Linked DNA regions of Homo sapiens: regions 1, 2 and 4 are each linked to region 3. The links are contacts of gene promoters, found by promoter capture Hi-C in blood cells and fetal thymus (Javierre and others, 2016). All regions are on one chromosome and are shown on one strand. Each heading gives the region's core, a stretch centred on a gene start or on the middle of the fragment in contact. The rest is flanking DNA. Distances are from core to core; before and after follow the strand shown. Region 1 has its middle 12 kb from the start of GLIS1. Region 2 overlaps GLIS1 (GLIS family zinc finger 1). Region 3 holds the start of DMRTB1 (DMRT like family B with proline rich C-terminal 1). Region 4 holds the start of LOC124900439 (small nucleolar RNA SNORA58).

Region 1 (2,700 bases), core at 105-2,604, 290 kb after region 3:
TAGCTTTATTTAGGAGGCAAACTTAATACACCTGGGTGATGGGAGTGAAGGGAAGCAATGTCTGGGCATCTAGGAAAATAGCAGTTTTAGGGTTTGGAACCTCCCCTGGGAGGCCCAAGGCATTCTTAGTCCTCAGTGGTGGTTTCCAGAAGCAAAGTCAACATCACCATTACCAAGTCATTAAGCTATATCTCTTCCTCATGCTCATCGCTGCAATGGCTTTTCTAGAGAAACTTTCATTGGCTCTCAGCTCATCACTGTCTTTATAGAGAAACAGAATCAGACTTACTATAATATGCATGTCAAATGCTGCTAATGAGGACAATAAGATCTGATAGCTTAAACAATTATAACGGACAATATTTGCTATAGATATGTAAGGAAGGGCCTGTTACTTATTATGGAAGCACACAGTCCCAGGCCCTGTGGCAGGTGCTTTTCCATACATTAATGCAGACAATGCTGTGTACATACAGCAATACACAGGACAGTCGTATGAACAGGGTAGTATTGTTTCCTATTACAGATGTGGAAGTGAGATCCCAAGGAGGCTAAGTGACTTGCTCAAGACCTCAGAACCAGCAAGTGGCAGAGTCAGGCTTGACCCTAAATACCACCATCTTTCCACCACACTACCACACCTCATCTCCAGCTGATCTGGACCATTCTCTGTCACCTGTCCCTTCCTCTCCTTTCCCCTAGAATGCCTTCCTGGCTGACCACTCCCATCCCAGCCCACCCAGATCTCCAAGTGGCCCCTTCTCCACTTAAGGCTTCCCCTCCCAACCAAACACCAAAAGCACAAAGCCTTCACCATAACTCCTTCCTGTGAACTGTGGAGTCATTGCCCTTCTCAGAGCACCTATTCTCTGCTGTGTTACTTACCCATTTGTGTATTTACTGTATTCCCACTAATAAACTGCAGACCCCTTGAAGGCAGGGACTTTGTATGTGTATCGAACATGTTCAGCAATTTGTGGATATGAACCCATGTACAAAATTGATTCAACAGATCAACAAGTTGGTAAATGAGGCTGAACCAAATGCATATATGGAGTAAGGAACAGAATAGTTGATTATTTTTATTTAAAATGTTTCTTATAAAATAAACAGAAGACTCATCCAGTACACACTAGTATTATGTAATTCCTATGCTGTTTTCCAGGCACATATTAAAGTCATCTAGACCTGTATCCAGAAAGCATTTTAATAAATAGAGGAATGGAATTGTATTCATGAATAAGTTTGAAATGAATTTTTCAATTAAAAAATCAGTTTTAAGACGTTTAATAGACATCTCGCATAATCCGCTCTTCAAAGACATTTTATTTCTTTTATGAAACCAAACTTACCTTACTGCATCCCAAATTCAAACACTCATGCAATGTTACAGTTAGAAGGGAACTTCAAAATCATTCAGTCCAATTCTTTGATTTTTCAGTCGAAATAGATAAGTGATGTGAAATCTTAGCTGAAGTTCACAGAGCTAGATAGTGCCAGAGATAAGACTAGAACTCATTATTTCCGAAACCCAACTCTCAGAGACAGCTGGAAGCCTACCTTTATATTCATCCTTTCATTTTTCTCCAGTAGCAGAACCCCAATTCTATTAATGGGTTACAATCAACCTCTAAAAGACATTTCCTAGACTCCCTTGCAACCAGATGTGGCCATGGGACCACTTTGGCCAATGAGATGCTAAGCGTTAAGTATGTGCACTTTCAGGAAGTGTTCCTAAAAGGGAGGGAGGATGCTATTTTCCCTCCCCTTCCTTCTTCCTGTTGCCTGGAAGGAAGGCATGAAGGCTGTGGTTCCAGGAGCCATGTGGGACCACAAGAGTCAGGACCACACCTTGGGGCTGGCTACGTGGAGAGCTAGAATGAGCCTGAATCCCTGATAACCTCAGGGAGTCACCATAGCCATTCTGGACAGCCTATTTCTGGATCTTCTTTTATGTGAGAAAAAAAAAATAACTGTGTCACTTAAATCACCATTATTCTGAGTTTTCATTTACATGCAGCCAGACTTAACTAACCCATCTTGCTTCCTCCATCTCACTAAATGGCAGTTCCATTCTACCAGCTGCTCAGGCCAAAAACCTTGGAGTCAATACTAGCGACTTTCTCTTTCACACTCCACAACCATTCCACCAGCAGTGCTTGTCACCTCTTCCTTCAAAATAGATCAAATCTGTCTGCATCTCACCCTGGGCCCAGCCACCATCCTCTCTCATCTGGTTACAGCAGTGGTCTCCTAACCTTCTTTCATTCTTGCCTGCCACCCACGGTCTCCAGTCTCTTTTCCACAGAACAGTCAGACTAAATTATTTCTTAAAGGTAATTCAACACATCTTACTCCTTTGCTCAGAACTTCCCAATGGCTGTCCCTGACTCGAAGCGGGAGCAAGGTCCTTCCTGTAGCCTACCTGGCCTGAGTGAGCTTGTCCTGGCCCCCATCTTGTTCACATTACCACACTCCACCTCATCCACTGCGCCTGGCCACCCTGCCCTCTTTGCTATCCCTTGAACTTATCAGGTATATGCCTGCCTTGGGACCGTTCTGTGTTTTGGAACTCACCCCTCAGGTACCTACATATTCTCTCCCTTACCTCATTCAGGTCTCTGCCCAAACATCATTTTATCGGGGGACCTTCCTGGACCACCCTATCTGAAATGGAAAACCAGCCAGGTGCGGTGGCTC
Region 2 (2,700 bases), core at 20-2,519, 270 kb after region 3:
AACATAAAAAAGGTTTATTATGTTCAATGTTAAGCTTATTATTTATTTATTTACTTTTTTTTTTTTTTGAGCTGGAGTCTCACTCTGTCACCCAGGCTGGAGTGCAGCAGCTTGATCTCAGCTCACTGCAACCTCTACCTCCCATGTTCTTCAAGCAATTCTCCTGCCTCAGCCTCCCGAGTAGCTGGGATCACAGGTGCGTGCCACTATGCTCATCTAATTTTTGTATGGTAGTGACAGTGTTCGCCATGTTGACTAGGCTGGTCTTGAACTCCTGACCTCAGGTGATCCGCCTGCCTTGGCCTCCCAAAGTGCTGGGATTACAGGGGTGAGCCACCGCGCCTGGCCTTAAATTTAAATGTAAGTAATAAGACTATATTCAGAATGATCTCAATGATATAAAACTATATTAATAGACAAGCATAGAAAGAAGACTGAAAAGAAATCTACCAAAATGTAAATAGTAGTCATTACTGGGGGGTGAGATTCTGGGCAAGTATTATTTCCATCTTTCCATGTTTCTATAGTTTCCAAAGCTTCTACAGTAAGTATATAGTACTCACGTGAGTGGGAAAAAATAAAGAGTATTAAATTAAATTACCTTTAAAGGGTCAGCCACTTCCCAAAGAAGGACTAGGAGTAAAAACTCAGTAATTTGTTAAAATCCAGGAACCTACAAGAATAAATCAATATTCTGCCATTCCCGTTTAAGCTGCTGCTCAGGGCACTGTCAGCATGTTTCCATTTCCAGGGGTGAGCTGGCTCTGGGTTACCCGCTAAGGAACCAGCAGAAGCCACCCACCAGGTCTGGCCACTCAAATGCTACCTCTCATGGAAGACTGCCCTGATCTCTTTTATCAGTGCTGCCTTAAGAACACTCTGAGAATAGGACAGATCCTAGGACTCACATGTGTATCTCCAACAGGAGGCAGGACTGGTAGCCAGCATGACAGCCCCATCTCAACACTTCTATGGCCATCTGCCCACCCTCTCAACTGGATGCTCCCCAAGGTAGAGGCCAAGGATGCTAGAGACTTTAGCATGTGACAAGAGTGTCAGGAAACAGGTGAGGAACAAATGAATACATTAAAGAATGATATTTTAGACTAATGCTGTCCAACAGAACTTTCTGTGACGGAGGAAATGCTCTATATTTGCAGTTTCCAATATGGTAGCTACCAGCTAGCCATGTGTCTACTGAGCACTTGAAATGTAGCTAGTATGACTGGAAAACTAAATTTTTAATTTTATTTAATTGTAATTCATCTAAATAGCCATAGTGTTTTTGTGGAGAAGCAAACATCACAAGGTAGTTTTAAGATTAAACAAGATGATCTTTTATTTTATTTTGAGAGATAGGGTCTTGCTCTGTCACCCAGGCTGGAGTACAGTGGCTTGACTACAGTTCACTGCATCCTTGAACTCCTGGGCTCAAGTGATCCTCCCCCTCAGCCTCCCTAGTAGCTGAGACTACAGGTGCACACCATCAACCTAGCTAATTTTTAAATTTTAAAAGTAAAGACAGAGTATCACTATGTTACCCAGGCTGGTCTTGAACTCCTGGCTTCAAGCAATCCTCCTGGCTTCAAGCAATCCTCCTGTCTCAGCCTCACCACTAGCTGGGACTACAGGTGCATGGCTGTTAAGATGATTCATTTTTAAAAAGATGATTGGTCCAGTACCTAACAATGCTCAATTGATCACTGTAGGATAATGAAAAAAAATGAGGAGGAGAAAGAGGAATAGGAGGCGAGTCTCCAACAGTGCCACCTGCTCAGCCAACATCAAGCAATGGGAATTTAGTTTTCTCTACCCCACCCCAGCAAATAGCTCTTCCGTATTCTGAGTGCATAGCAGCCAGAGCCATGGAGAGAGTGGGAATGGGAAGAGTGGGGAGGGAGAGGTATGAAGCTGGGACAGGAGACACCCTGCAGACTTGCTGAAAGAGGAAAGTTGTTGGCCTGTATTGCCTGAGACAATGAGTAGGTATTCACTCCAAGAAGAAAGCTTAAGCCACCAGAATCGGCAACAGGTACAAGAAAAGGGCTGCCCAAAGCAGTCCTCAAGCCCAGGATTTAACACTCTGTGTCCACCAGTGTCCTGTAGAGGGCTGGTCTGCAAACTCAAGTTCTGACCTGTCCTAGAGTTCCCAATTGTTAGCCACCTAGAGAGCCCTTTTCCACCCTACCTCACTGATTCTCATGCTACCCTGGCCAGGGGAGTGAGCACCAGTTTCCATTCTGTGACTCAGCAGACCAAGGCTGGGTGAGACTGTCTGAGGTCATGAGGCTGAGACTGGCTGGAGAACTGGAGTCTGCCTAGGACAGACAGCAAATGATAAGGTGCTGATGCCGCACAGAGGCCTGGAAACCCGGCCAGCCTGAAGGGGGAACCTGCAAACACCGACCCTCCAGGCTGCGAGCTCCGAGGAGGCAAGGGCTCCATCTGTTGGTTCTCCATGGTGTCCCAGGGCAGAACCCAACACTGGGAGCACAGCGGGCATCCGATAAATATGGATAAACCAACCAACCACCAGCCAAACACAGGTACAGCCATTCCAGTTTTCAGGCTAATTCTACATACTTCATCCCATCTGCCCCTAACAATTGGCCAGACAGGGGTCATTCCCCCATTTTAAAAGGGGGAACTGAGTCTCAAAAATTGAGAGCCACTCTGAGTTGCTGTACTGAAAATCTGCTT
Region 3 (2,700 bases), core at 34-2,533:
CAGGGTGTCACAAATTTGTTTTTAAAAAATGAATTAATGGCCGGACGCGGTGGCTCACGCCCGTAATCCCAGCACATTGGGAGGCCGAGGCCGGTGGATCACCTGAGATCGGGAGTTCAAGACCAGCCTGGCCAACATGGCGAAAACCCCGTCTCTACTAAAAATACAAAAATTAGCTGGGCATGGTGGCGGGCGCCTGTAATCCAAGCTACTCAGGAGGCTGAGGCAGGAGAATCGCTTGAACCTGGGAGGCGGAGGTTGCAGTGAGCCAAGATCCTGCCACTGCACTACAGCCTGGGTGACAAAGCAAGACTCTGTCTCAAAAAAAAAAAAAAAAACAAAAAAAAACAATTAATGCCCTCGGGTAAACTATGACGTTTGTGCTAACTTTTCAGATGTCCCAAGATTTGGGTTGTTTTACAAGGATAACGAAGTTCATGATGAGGTTAAGCAATCACTGAAGCTAGTGCTAGAAATTTTTTTTAATTTAATTTTTTAGAAAGAGGGGTCTTGCAGAATTTTTTATTTAATTTTTTAGAAAGAGGAGTCTCGCTATGTTGCTCAGGTTGGTCTCCAACTACTGGGCTCAAGTGATCCTCACGAGTAGCTAGGGCTACAGGCACAGGACACTATGCCAGGCTTAGTGCTACAATATTCTGTCTATTTTACTTTAAAATATTCTAAGTATGCTCACTTTGGAAGGCATCAACATCCAGAAATGCATTCCTACATCAAGACTCTCAAGAAACGGGAATTACTGTAAGGGCATACCCTTGAGCAACCATCACACTGCACTGAACTCTTGAGAATATTCTGGAATATCCTGGAAGCATCTCTGCAGGGCAGAGAAGTGAACTGCCACAGAAGGAGCAGCTTTGGGGAGAAGAAATACAGTTTGCCTCTTACAGTATTTTTCTACACCGAGAGCTACATTCCTCCCGAGTTTTAAATTTGTGGACCGTTGAATATCACTCCGCCTTTCATAAAGTTACAAATACCTTCCGTCGGTGGCGGGAACAGAGTTTGGAAAATTACATGCCTAAGACTTCAGATAAGCTAAATGACATACATGCAATAGCATCCCATGAAGAATTTATTCAACCCAATCCATTGCATCTAATTACCCAAAGCACAGAAACTCTCCAAACTGTGCACCCCCCAAAAGGAGGGAAAATGCAAGGTTCCTGCTGCAGTTCCCGGGACACACTGCGAGCCGCTTTGTTACAAGTGTATCCAATGTCCCCAGAACGAGGGACTTGTGGGGCGCGGCTCATCCCAGCGCCACTTGCTCTGCAGCTCCCAGAGGTGGTGGTTGTGTTACGAAGGCTGACCCTGCCAATGGCCGACAAAATGGTGCGCACCCCCAAGTGCTCGAGATGCAGGAACCATGGCTTCCTGGTGCCCGTCAAGGGACACGCGGGCAAATGCCGCTGGAAGCAGTGCCTCTGCGAGAAGTGCTACCTGATCTCCGAGCGCCAGAAGATCATGGCCGCGCAGAAGGTGCTCAAGACGCAGGCCGCCGAGGAGGAGCAGGAGGCGGCCCTGTGTGCGCAGGGGCCCAAGCAGGCCTCCGGGGCTGCGGCCGCCGCCCCCGCCCCCGTCCCCGTCCCGGCCGCGAGCCTCCGCCCGCTGTCCCCGGGGACTCCCTCCGGAGACGCCGACCCGGGACCCGAGGGCCGCGCGGCCGCTTGCTTCTTCGAGCAGCCCCCGCGGGGCCGGAACCCCGGCCCGAGAGCCCTCCAGCCGGTTCTGGGCGGCCGCAGCCACGTGGAGCCGAGCGAGCGAGCCGCCGTGGCGATGCCCAGCCTTGCGGGACCCCCTTTTGGGGCGGAGGCCGCAGGCAGTGGCTACCCTGGCCCCCTAGACCTGCGCAGGCCGATGCGGACCGTGCCCGGCCCACTGTTCACCGACTTTGGTAAGTCGTGGCCTTGGTCCCGCGGTCGACTCCCGGAGCTGGCAGCCCAGGCCAGCCCGGATGGGGAGCTGGCATAGGGGTTCGGGGTGGAGAGAAGTTTTTCCACGGGTAACGGACCTTCCGCTTTGAGAAACCCTTCTTCGAACAGGGATTTGGATTGGGTAACTTTTCGCAAAAAGGAAACGAGAAACAGAAAGGAATGGGCGGTTCAGAGGGCTTTTAACATTTAGCTGTAGTTTGTGCCATTCCGGCATGCAAGAACAAAATGGCGTCCAGTCGACTTAGCAGTGCTTCCTCCTCCGGGGGAGGCTTCGAGGAGCCGAGTCCTACTGCTCTTGCGCACCTCTTCCCGCCATTTCCTTGGGCTGGAGGCTCCTCCTCCAGAATAACAGAATTTTCCTGCCGGCACGTTAGCGCAAGGACGCCTGCGCACTCTTCCCTCCCGGTTCGCGGTCGGGAGGCTCCTCCCCTCAGCTCCGCCCTGGCCCAGTGCGCCTGCGCACCTCTTCCCTCCGTTTCCCCACGTGCAGGTGAGGGGAGCCTGCTTCTTTACTCCACACACGAGAACAGTTGGTCAGTAAAGATGTTGCCTTTCTTTTCTCCCTTCACCTTGTACATAAATTACATTGTTCCCTGTGCCTTGGAGCTTTTGGTATTGAAGTAGTTTCAAGTCACATGTACATTTGAAGCTTTAGAAGCCCCGGGGTTTGGTGCGGACGCGTTTTCCTGGTGTCTCCCCCGTGGTGGTGTGGTGGGACGGGCTCAGGCCGAGGCGGGGGCCCGGG
Region 4 (2,700 bases), core at 117-2,616, 310 kb after region 3:
GACCACTGTGCCTGGCCTATATCGCTTTCTTATCTAAATCCCTATGCTCCCCTTTTCTTCTTGCCTTTTTTCCCCCAGGGGAATGTTACAGTCCTGCTATTTATCCAGCCACTGATTAAGCTGGATAAAGCTGGCAGGAACTTCAAATTAATCTCGAATACAATGTCCCCCCTGCCTGGACATGAGCACAGTCAGGCAAGGTCTACGGGTATGCCCTTCTCCTTGCTTTTGTTCTATCATTAATATATGTCATATCTATTTCATTCTCTAAATTCATCAGTATTTTCTGAATGTGTCCTACATACTAATTTATATCTTGGAGGCAGTCTAGTGTTGTAGATAGAAAGATGAAAGATTTTTAAGAGAAAGAAAGACTTGATTTCAGGTTCATGTTTAATACGCACTAGATTGTGCTATCAGGCAAATTTTAACATCTCTATGCCTCAGTTTTCGTATCTGTACAATTATGATAATTTCTACACTTCACAGGGTCTTTGAAAAGAGTAAATGAAAAAACATTAAGTTCTAAGTGTATTGTCTAGAATAGCACTATCTGATAAAACTTTCTGGAAGTAGGGAAAGATGTTATACTTCTGTTGTCCAATACAGTAGCTACTAAACACATGTAGTTATTAAGTACTTCAAATGTGGCTAGGGTGACTGACAAATTGAATTTTTAACTTTATTTAACTTTAATTTAAATTGGAAGTCTTAAACTATTCATTGATTGCATACAAAAACAGCAGAGCAATCTCTCGTGTCTTCTAAAGTTCATTTATAATTGTGATAAATATAAATACAGTTTAGTTACTAAGCTAGTATCCCTCATCCTGCCTAGCTAGATCATTTCACAAGAGGAAAGCAGTAAACATGAATAAAACTAAATATAAACAGGCTTGGCATTTGTGGTTTTCTCTCTGGTTCTGTTTCTCAAGGTGTTGTGATCTGTTGGTGTTTTTCCAGCATGAATCACAAAGCACCAGGGATTCATTTCTGGAATACTTTGCTCACCCCAAGTCTTCAGTTTGCTGACCAAGATATAACAATAGAATTAGTTTTAATATGCTTTTCTGGAAAGGTACTCGGGTTTTCTGCTCTTTTTTCTCCCTTAAGGATCTTTTGATAATTTAAATATATATATATAATTAATCTGCTGCATTTATAACTTTCTGTCTTCTTTTGTCCATTTGAAAGAAATCCCCAAAGCTTTATGATGGGCCAAATTTTAAAATATAAATATTAAGTCCACATCCAAGCTGTAAGTTTACAGTGAGAATCATCAAGGTCCCAAAAGAACACTTTCAACACATGAGCCTTATCATTCCCATACCTATTTCTAAGGAAAGCTCCCCAGAATAGGTATCATCATGGATCAAAACAGGTAAACTTACTTCAGATGTTCACCAAATGTAGTAGTTATTCGATAGATGGCAGTTTTCAGTGATGCTCTGAATGCAAATCTTAATGTTTTATATGAAGTGTCCACAAGGCTTCCTGAAATCCGGGGTGGTTTACTGGAAGCATGAGGAAGCTTAAAGTACTTGTCGACTGCCTACACCAAGAAAGAAAACACATCAGTTTAGATTATAAAGAAAGCCAACCTAGGCCAGGTGCTGTGGCTCACATGTGTAATCCCAACACTTTGGAAGGACGAGGCGGGAGGACTGCTTGAGCCCAGGAGTTCCACTGTACTCCAGACTGGGCGACAGAGATCCTGTCTCAAAATAACATAACATAACATAACATAACATAACATAACATAACATAACATAACATAACATAACAAAACAAAACAAACATAATATAACATAAAATAAAATAAAATAAAAAATTAAAAAGAAAAAAGTCACTTCAGTCCAAAGAATTAAGATTTGAGATAGATACAAATGGATATATACAGAGAGATATACACATATCTATAGCTATGCTGTAACACATTTCTTACTGTAGATCACAGTCAAAATAGTTTCATAAACAATGCAATAGGGAGGCTCAGCTACTATGACAGTTACCAGGCCCCCCCCAAAATCCAGACTTGCCCTTGGAAATGAAGCTATCATTCAATATCCTTGAAAATGCAAAGCTTGAAGTCAAACACTGATGTCCTACTCTGCTTATGATGTGACAGCCAGGAGGAGCTTTATTAAAAGACCTCAGCAAAAAAAAAAAAAAAGACCAAAACTTTATACTTTACAGAAATAGTTATTCACTAAATAGTTTATCTTCCTTTTCAATTCAGATAAGGCATTTATGATACTGTTACATCATGAGGTCCCCATGGAAAAATAAACTGACAAGATACAACAGTATAAGCGTACTATTTATAGTTATGAATGTAACCACCAAAAGAACTGAAAACAAAAATAATTAAAATTATTTTTGCCATCAAGTTCTTAATTTCAAGAGCTCTTTAACATCATCTGTTCTTTTTAATTTTAGCATCCTATTTTTGTTTCAAAGATGCAATATCCTTTCTTATTTCTAAGGATTCTGATGACAGCTTTTTTGTTTTTTAGTTTCTTCCAAGCTGATTTTCCCCCTTTGCTCCCTTTAGTCTCCAACTTCTGCATGAGAGACTTTCCTCAGAAATCTAGTGATCCTCGTTCACAAATGCAAGTGGGACCTGCTAAAGAGCTGAGCACCAATTCTAAGTGCATGACTGGGGATTACAGACGAGCGGCTTCACAGTGGGTCATCTGC

Evidence for each region. The method cuts DNA at HindIII sites, captures the fragments that hold promoters and counts their contacts. A CHiCAGO score of 5 or more calls a contact.
Region 1: a contact is called between a fragment that was not itself captured here and the fragment with the promoter of DMRTB1 in region 3, in 1 of 17 cell types (M2 macrophages). The highest score is 5.3, in M2 macrophages.
Region 2: a contact is called between a fragment that was not itself captured here and the fragment with the promoter of DMRTB1 in region 3, in 2 of 17 cell types (M1 macrophages and fetal thymus). The highest score is 5.9, in M1 macrophages.
Region 4: a fragment that was not itself captured here is called in contact with the fragment with the promoter of DMRTB1 in region 3 in 1 of 17 cell types (M2 macrophages); the score reaches 5.6 in M2 macrophages.

What each region holds. Positions count from the first base shown.
Region 1 is chr1:53,750,024-53,752,723 of GRCh38, forward strand. No RefSeq gene overlaps it. Among named protein-coding and RNA genes, the nearest start is that of GLIS1, 12 kb to the left of the region's middle. The HindIII fragment of the contact is 3,900 bases long and covers 1-2,700 here.
Region 2 is chr1:53,723,186-53,725,885 of GRCh38, forward strand. The region is part of intron 2 of GLIS1 (GLIS family zinc finger 1); the gene reads right to left. Among named protein-coding and RNA genes, the nearest start is that of GLIS1, 15 kb to the right of the region's middle. The HindIII fragment of the contact is 1,471 bases long and covers 535-2,005 here.
Region 3 is chr1:53,458,116-53,460,815 of GRCh38, forward strand. It overlaps DMRTB1 (DMRT like family B with proline rich C-terminal 1), which reads left to right and starts at 1,284. Exons shown (of 4, transcript NM_033067.3): 1 at 1,284-1,915. The coding sequence starts at 1,339. The HindIII fragment of the contact is 2,763 bases long and covers 1-2,602 here.
Region 4 is chr1:53,770,938-53,773,637 of GRCh38, forward strand. It overlaps NDC1 (NDC1 transmembrane nucleoporin), which reads right to left. Exons shown (of 18, transcript NM_018087.5): 17 at 1,392-1,552. It overlaps LOC124900439 (small nucleolar RNA SNORA58), which reads right to left and starts at 216; the gene lies at 81-216. RefSeq lists an enhancer at 1-163. The HindIII fragment of the contact is 325 bases long and covers 1,205-1,529 here.